Linked DNA regions of Homo sapiens: region 2 is linked to region 1. Evidence: promoter capture Hi-C in 16 types of primary human blood cells and fetal thymus (Javierre and others, 2016). All regions are on one chromosome and are shown on one strand. The core of a region is centred on a gene start or on the middle of the fragment in contact, and the rest is flanking DNA. Distances in the headings are between cores, read along the strand shown. Region 1 holds the start of DDI2 (DDI proteasomal shuttling factor 2). Region 2 holds the start of NECAP2 (NECAP endocytosis associated 2).

Evidence for each region. Contacts are between HindIII fragments. The CHiCAGO score rates a contact against its expected background, and 5 or more counts as called.
Region 2: a contact is called between the fragment with the promoter of NECAP2 here and the fragment with the promoter of DDI2 in region 1, in 2 of 17 cell types (activated CD4 T cells and total CD8 T cells). The highest score is 5.5, in activated CD4 T cells.

The regions. Positions count from the first base shown.
Region 1 is chr1:15,615,164-15,618,804 of GRCh38, forward strand. DDI2 (DDI proteasomal shuttling factor 2) reads left to right here and starts at 2,295. Exons shown (of 10, transcript NM_032341.5): 1 at 2,295-2,645. The coding sequence starts at 2,508. RefSeq lists a silencer at 2,049-2,618. The HindIII fragment of the contact is 6,323 bases long and covers 877-3,641 here.
Region 2 is chr1:16,438,088-16,442,088 of GRCh38, forward strand. NECAP2 (NECAP endocytosis associated 2) reads left to right here and starts at 2,637. Exons shown (of 8, transcript NM_018090.5): 1 at 2,637-2,766. The coding sequence starts at 2,675. RefSeq lists a silencer at 67-237. The HindIII fragment of the contact is 8,327 bases long and covers 1,189-4,001 here.

The DNA of each region.
Region 1 (3,641 bases), core at 1,045-3,544:
TCTCTACTAAAAAGAAATTAGCTGCGTGTGGTGGTGCACACCTGTAGTTCCAGCTGCTGGGGAGGTTGAGCTGGAGGGATCACTTGAGCCCTGGAGGTTGAGGCTGCAGTGAGCCATGATCGTGCCACTGCACTCCAGCCTGGGTGACAGAGCCAGACCCTGTCTTGATAAAAAAAAAAAAAAAAAAGGAAATCACATAATGTCACTTATGCCAGAGTTAGTCTGCCGAGCCATGATTCAAAGGGAGGGACATTCACCCCACTTCTTAATGGGAGGGTTATCCAATCATGTTGTAGGAAGAGCATAGACGATGGGAGGCACTGTCATGGTCATCTTTGGAGAACAAAATCTGCCAGACCTGGGAACCTGAGCACCACTAGACCAAATATAACAATTAATCAATGATTCAAGCCTCAACTGATTCCTTGATACCACCACTGGGCAATCCTAGAACATTTCTCAGCTAAACTTGCTTCAATTTGCAATGGTTATTTCAAACATTCACTGTAGAAGGCACTGTGTACATCTTTCCTAATACCCATTCCCAGCCCCCCTTTTCCCTATTTATGTCCTTTAGGCAAAGCTAAATACTTGCGTTCCTAGCCTCTCTTGCATCTATGTGACACAATTCTGTCCAGTGAGATGTAAGCAAAAATGTGCACAGGGACTTCTGGGCAAGCTTTTTCCTTGAATAGGAAAATGATGCGTGCAGTGGAGGCAGCCAGCCATATATTGCAACCCTCAGGAAAAGGTCAAGACAATTACAAAAGTATTGGCCCTGATTTCAGTGAGCCACTCAACCAGTGCTGTTGCTACCTCCAGGCCTTCTCTCCTGTGAGAAAACAAACCCTTGTTTGTTTAAGCCACTGATAGTCAAGCTTTCTGTTGCTCCTAGGGGATATAAGCATTCTCACTCCCCTGTGCCTCTACTTTCTCTTTTTTTTTTTTTTTTTTGAGACAGAGTCTCGCTCTGTCTCCCAGGCTAGAGTGCAGTGACCTGATCTCGGCTCACTACAACCTCCGCCTCCCGCGTTCAAGTGACCCTCCTGCCTCAGCCTCCCGAGTAGCTGGGACTATAGGTGTCCGCCACCATGCCCGGCTAATTTTTGTATTTTTAGTAGAGACGGGGTTTCACCATATTGGCCAAGCTGGTCTCGAACTCCTGACCTTGTGATCCGCCCGCCTTGGCCTCCCAAAGTGCTGGGATTACAGGCGTGAGCCACCGCGCCCAGCTCCTCTAATTTCTCTTTGTAAAAGCCTTCAGCTGCTAATTCTCCCTTTCCTGCCACCAACAGCCTACTTACTACCTACTTACCTGCACCCACAGCCATCTTATTTGCTCCTTCTCTCCTGTTAAAATGGAAAAGGGCTCCCTACCATGGAGGGGGAGTGGGAGTAAATGGAAAGATGCTAATCTGGCATCCATTACAAGTTCATCTTTCAGTTTTGGTTTTCTTACTCATCCGCACCTTAGTTCTGGGCCTCTACCACTCATCAGCTGTGTGCCTTAAAAACAGGCCATTAAAGTAGCAAATATTTATTGAGTAGATTCTAAGCTGTGCCCAAAAAGGCACTGCGCTAGGTGGTAGGAGTTGCTAGGGCTAGGAAACAGACACAGTCCAAGTAGAGAGAAAATTATTTACAAGACAGGGGAATGGAGCCTTGGAGGAACTGACCTATGTGGCTGGGAGGGCAGAGAATGTGGGAAGAGCTCGGAAGAAGGGGCTGGGGAGGTAGGCGTGGGCCACAGCCAACTGGCTTCTGTAGACTAGGGAGGGTAATGATTTTGGTTTCAATCCTAAATCACTAAGACAGGAAGTGAATTACTCTGTCGGAGCCTCAATTTCTACCTCGAAAAATATGTTTTATTACTAACTCCTGTACTAGATTGAGAGTTACGGAGAAGGATTTATCCTTTTATTCATTTCTGCATCGCCAGCGCCCGACACATGGTAGGCGCTTAATCAATGCCTGTTCGGTGAATAAATAAGACCGGGGACTCCTCCACAGACTTCTGTCATTAAGTCAACCAGTCAGCAGAGATTTCCTTCTCCGCGTTCCTTTCCTTCCCTCCCCTTTTCTTGCCCTTCCTCCCTCTCCTCTTCCACGCCCCCTTCCCACTCCTCCCCCTCCTATCCTCTCCTGGCTTCCTCCTCCTCTTCCCGGCCCCGCCCCCCGCTGCGTTGCGAAGGCGGGGAAGGCGAGGCGGGCTTTACGGCAGCCGCGTTGCGGCGGGGCGGGGCGCCGGGCGGCCGGCGCGCTTGGCGGCAGCCGTGGGAGGCAGGCCGGCAGGCAGACGGACTCGCAGGCGTGTGGCGGCGGCCGTGCTTGCTAGTGAGGGCGGGAGGGAGTGACTCACTGAGCGTGTGTGAGGGAGGGAGCGAGCGAGCGAACGAGCAGCCGGCGCCGTCCTCCCGCAGCACCAGCCAGGCCACGCCGCCGCCTCTTCCCCTGCGCCCCGCGCCCAGGCCGGGCCGAGCCGAGCCGAGCCGGGTCGGGCCCGGGCCATGCTGCTCACCGTGTACTGTGTGCGGAGGGACCTCTCCGAGGTGACCTTTTCCCTCCAGGTCGACGCCGACTTCGAGCTGCACAACTTCCGCGCGCTGTGCGAGCTCGAGTCTGGCATCCCCGCAGCCGAGAGCCAGGTACGCCGGGCAGCGAGCCGGGCCTGCCCCGGAGCTAAGCCCTCCCCGCCTCGGGGCCTCACTCCCTCCCTTTGCTACTGGTGAAGAATTGGGGGCTGGGGGGAGCAAGGATAGCCATTCTCAGGTCACCCCCGCATCCGGAAAGGAGCTGGGGAGCTGGCATCAGTAGCTGCCCTCACACACTCCGAGCATGGGGTGGGGTACGAGGAGAGGGAGCGGAGAACCTGACCGCAGACGCACCCACTGCAGCGTGAGGGGCGCGTGGACTGTTGAGCAGCGCTAACCCTCCCCACCTTTGGCTCTTTGGCCCTTCCCTGTTTCTAATCCCGAGTGTAGGATATCGTTGTGGACCTCAGAAGCAGCCCTGGGTTTGCTAGGATTCATACATCCTGCAAACCAGAAATACCAGTTTGGATCACTGTGGTAGATAGATGTTCCTCTGCTTTTTTTTTTTTTTTTTTCTGGAGAGGGTTTCTGCTTAAATATACGCAGTTTACCTTTAAATGCACAGATTTGCACTTCCGGTGAAAGAAAAAGTTTAAGACTTGCACTACCTCATTTTGGGGTCTTTGGAAATGCTCTTTACCCACCACATGCGTTTCTGGTTAAATTCTTTTGAAAAACAGTACCTATTGGTTCAACTCAAGCTGTTTGTTTGTTTCGGTTCTACCCTGGTAGTAAGCCAGAAGGCCCTTTTTCTTTCAGGTCACAGTTCAGAGTTTGGGTCAGTTCAAAGCTCAATGCTTTAAAAGGATATTTGCTTGGAAACGGCCTAGTATCAGTGCTGTTTGGTGGTTTCATTTCCCTACTCAGCTTGCTGGAAAGAAGTTCAGCCTCTCATATTTTAACTAAGCAAAGTAATTCTCAAAATGCTTTGGGGCTGCCCCTAGTCTTTATCAAACAGAATCGGTGACACTAACGCTGTAAACTTTACACTAAAACACTTAGATCATGACTTAATAAATTTAGCCTGGAGGAAATAGTCTAAACATTAAG
Region 2 (4,001 bases), core at 1,387-3,886, 820 kb after region 1:
GCTCATGCCTATAATCCTAGCACTTTGGAAGGCTGAGGCAGGAGGATCTCTTGAAGACAGGAATTCAAGACCAGCCTGGGCAACATAGCAAGACCCCCGTCTCTACAAAAAGTAAGAAAAATAGCAGGGTAGGGTGGTGTGTGCCTGTAGGCCCAGCTACTCAAAAGGTTGAGGCAGGAGGATCCCTTGAGCCCGGGAATTTGAGGCTGCAGTGAGTGATGATCGCACCATTGCACTCCAGTGTGGGGTGACAGAGAGAGAAAGAAAGAGAGAGACCCTGTCTAAAAAAAAAAAAAAAAAGAAAAGAAAAAGAAAAGAAAAGAAAAGAAAAATAACCAATATTTGCAAAAATGTGAAGAAATTGAAACCCTTGTGAACGTAAATGGTGCTGCTGCTGTGGAAGACAGTTTGGAGGCTCCTCAAAAAGGTGAGCAAGGCCGGACATGGTGGTTCACACCTGTAGTCCCAGCTACTTGGGAGGCTGAGTTGGGAGGATCACTTGAGCCTGGGAGGTTGAGGCTGCAGTGAGCCATGATCATGCCAGTGCTTTCCAGCCTGGGCAACAGAGTGAGATGCTGTTTCAAACAAAACAAAACAAAACAAAACCACTAAACATAGCATTATTGTATAACTCAGCAGTTTCACTCCTATGTATACACTCAAGAAAATGGAAAACAGGACTAGAACAAGTGTTTGAACACCAATGCTCATAGTAGCCCGATTCCCAATACCAAAAGGTGATAACATCCCAATTGTTGACAGATGAATGGATAAACAAAATATGGTATATACATGCAATGGAATATTATCCCTCCATTAAAAGGAATGAAATTCTGATCCATGCTACATGAAAGAACCTTGAAAACTTGATGCTAAGTGAAATAAGAAACACAAAAGCCCAATATTGTATGATTCCACTTATAAGAGGTATCTAGAAAAGGCAAATTCATAGAGACAGAAAGTAAAACAGAGGTTACTAAGGGATGGAGCAGAAGGAAATGGGAAGTTATTGCTAATGGGTGTGGAGTTTCTGTTTGGGATGATGAAAAGTTCTGGAAAGCATGATATAGTTGCACAATATTGTGAATGTACTTAATTTCACAGCATTGTACACTTAAAATGGTAAATTTTATGTTATGTATATTTTACAATAAAAATGTAAGTGGTTAGATCAATCCTATAATAAAAAGCTTATAAAAAATGAGTAGAAATGGCCAGTCGTGGTGGCTCACGCCTGTAATCCCAGCACTTGGGAGGCCGAAGTGGGCGGATCACTTGAGGTCAGGAGTTCAAGATCAGCTTGGCCAACCAGATGAAACCCCCGTCTCTACCAAAAAAATACAAAAACTAGCCAGGCTTGGTGGTGGGTGCCTGTAATCCCAGCTACTCGGGAGGCTGAGGCAGGAGAATCGCTTGAACCCGGGAGGTGGAGGTTGCAGTGAGCCGAGATTGCACCACTGCACTCCAGCCTGGGCGGCAGAGTGAGACTTTGTCTGAAGAAAAAAAAAAAAAAAAGTAAAAAGGAGAAGGAGAGTGAGAGAGAAAAGGAAAGAAGGGGTGGGGAAAGTTTGGGGTATTCAGTGAATCAGAAGTTTGGGATCAGCTTCACCCCCACATAGGGGCTGGCACATTGCAGGCACTCAACTCAATGAGAGAATGGTAGGGAAGGAGGGATTTTGAGAATTTGGCTAGGGTAGACATTGTATCTCCCAGAATATTCTGGGAGAAATCGAAGTTAAGACTGGAATTCTTCTTCTTCTTTTTTTTTTTTTTTGAGACAGAGTCCCGCTCTGTCACCCAGGCTGAGGTGCAGTGGCACAATTTCAGCTCACTGCAACTTCCGCATTCCGGGTTCAAGCGATTCTAGTGCCTCAGTCTCCCAACTAGCTAGGACTACAGACACACGCCACCAAGCCCGGCTAATTTTTGTATTTTTAGTAGAGACGGGGTTTCACCATGTTGGCCAGGCTGGTCTCGAACTCCTGACCTCAGGTGATCCGCCCGCCTCAGCCTCCCAAAGTGCTGGGATTACAGGCGTGAGCTACCAAGCCCGGCCTGGAATTCTTCTTAAATTACTTGTGTTACTAAACTTTACTTCTTTGAATACAACTCGTTGTTGAGGTTTGGCCACACGGGGCCCTGAGCATATAAGTGGGTTCCCCTAGGGGAAGCATGGAGGGTGGTAGGGTAATGGCATCTATTTAGTCTGGTGGGTCAGGTGCCAGCTGAGCCTTACAGTCAGGAGAGGGAAGGATATTCAGGCAGAGGAGGCGCCGAGGCAAAGGCTGGAGGACAGAGATACTGCAGGGTGGGCTACAGCTTTGCCTCTCGGTCAACTGGGCCCCAGGCCTAAGAAACTGAAGCGATGGGGATGATCCACACCCAGACCACGGGTTACAGAGGGGTCTGTCCATGGCGGGCGCAGGGCGCTTTCTTTGCGTCGGAGGGTGTCTGGAGGGAAGGAGAAGCCTCTGGAGGGAGGGAGAAGCCTCCGGAGGTCGCCCGCCACGTGTCTTGAGCCGGGTTTCCAGCAGAGGGCGCACAAACGAGGCGGTGCTGAGGCCCGCGAGCTGCCGCTCTAGCCGAAACCTGGTCAGAGAGTCGCACCGCTTCCGTCCGTCGGACAGAGGAACGGTGGAAGTCGCCGGAAGTTCGGTGGGCTCCAGGCGTCGCGATGGAGGAGAGCGGGTACGAGTCGGTGCTCTGTGTCAAGCCTGACGTCCACGTCTACCGCATCCCTCCGCGGGCTACCAACCGTGGCTACAGGTGACTACCCACCGCCAGACCAGGCTAGCTCCAATTTAACCCTTTCTCCGCCACCCGGACACACCCACTGCGGGAACCGAGGACAGCCCTGGCCAGTTTTGGGGCGAGGGGGAGCTAATGCTGCTGCTTCTTCCAGTTCCAGGCCCGAGCAGGGAGGTGGATCCAGAGTTTCGCCCGTCTCAGTTCGACGCACGGGACTCCTGGCGGCGGGGAGGGCGTTAAAGCCGTATCTAGCGCTTAGGGACCCCGGTGGGCTGCCGGGTACCCTAAACTTGGTCGGGGGTGGTGATGTCACAGACGCTTCTCTTTCAGCGCTAACCGGTGGCCTTGAAGGGATCCTCGAAAAGCCTTAAGCGGGGAGGTGCCCTATCACAGACGGAAATCCCCGAGAGGAGGGGAGGGAGCCCAGAGCCGGCTGAAAGGACCGGTCCCGGGGAGCTTTAAGGTGACGGTCGAAGCCCAGGGACCCCTTCCTACCCAGATCCCTTCGCACGAATTTCACCCTTGATCACAGCCTGGAGCAGTTGGGAGGACCCCTTCTATATTTCTCTGGTCTCTACCTGAGACGAATAAACACACACGCTTGTAAACATACTGAGTATCTCTGCAAAGGAACACAGGAAACTGCCCTAGGGGAGGGGAACCGCCCTTGGAAGGAAACTTCCTTTCCCTTTTGTGCTGTTTGCGTTTTACTACTCTTTGTATGCGTTATCTATCAAAACGACGAAAAATATTAAAAGAAAAAAGATACACTTCATACAGACAACCTGGCCTATGGCTATTTTGTGCCACTGAGTGGTGGTGGGGAGTGCTCGTATTTGCGGGGGCCTGGGTGGCTCTTGAAGGCGATGGTTGTCCAAGTTTTTCGGAAATACAGGATTGGTCTGCACCCCAAGAATGATGGAACGTCCACATTTCCTCTTGTTACTTTCCAGTTGTGTTACCGTGGGCTCATAGCTGATCTTATGGTGAAAAGATGCGTTAGTGAACATTACATTCATGACATATTTTAAAATAGTATAAAAACAAAAACAACAATAACCAAAATACATTTGTTTTCTGTCATCAAACTGTGGTTGGACCATCAAACCATTGATGGTCGTCTAGCCCCATCTCCTGTTGGGTCTTTTTTTTTTTTTTTTGAGACAGAGTTTCCCTCTTGTTGTCCAGGCTAGAGTGCAATGGTGCGATCTCGGCTCACTGCAACCTCCGCCTCCCGGATTCAAGCGATTCTC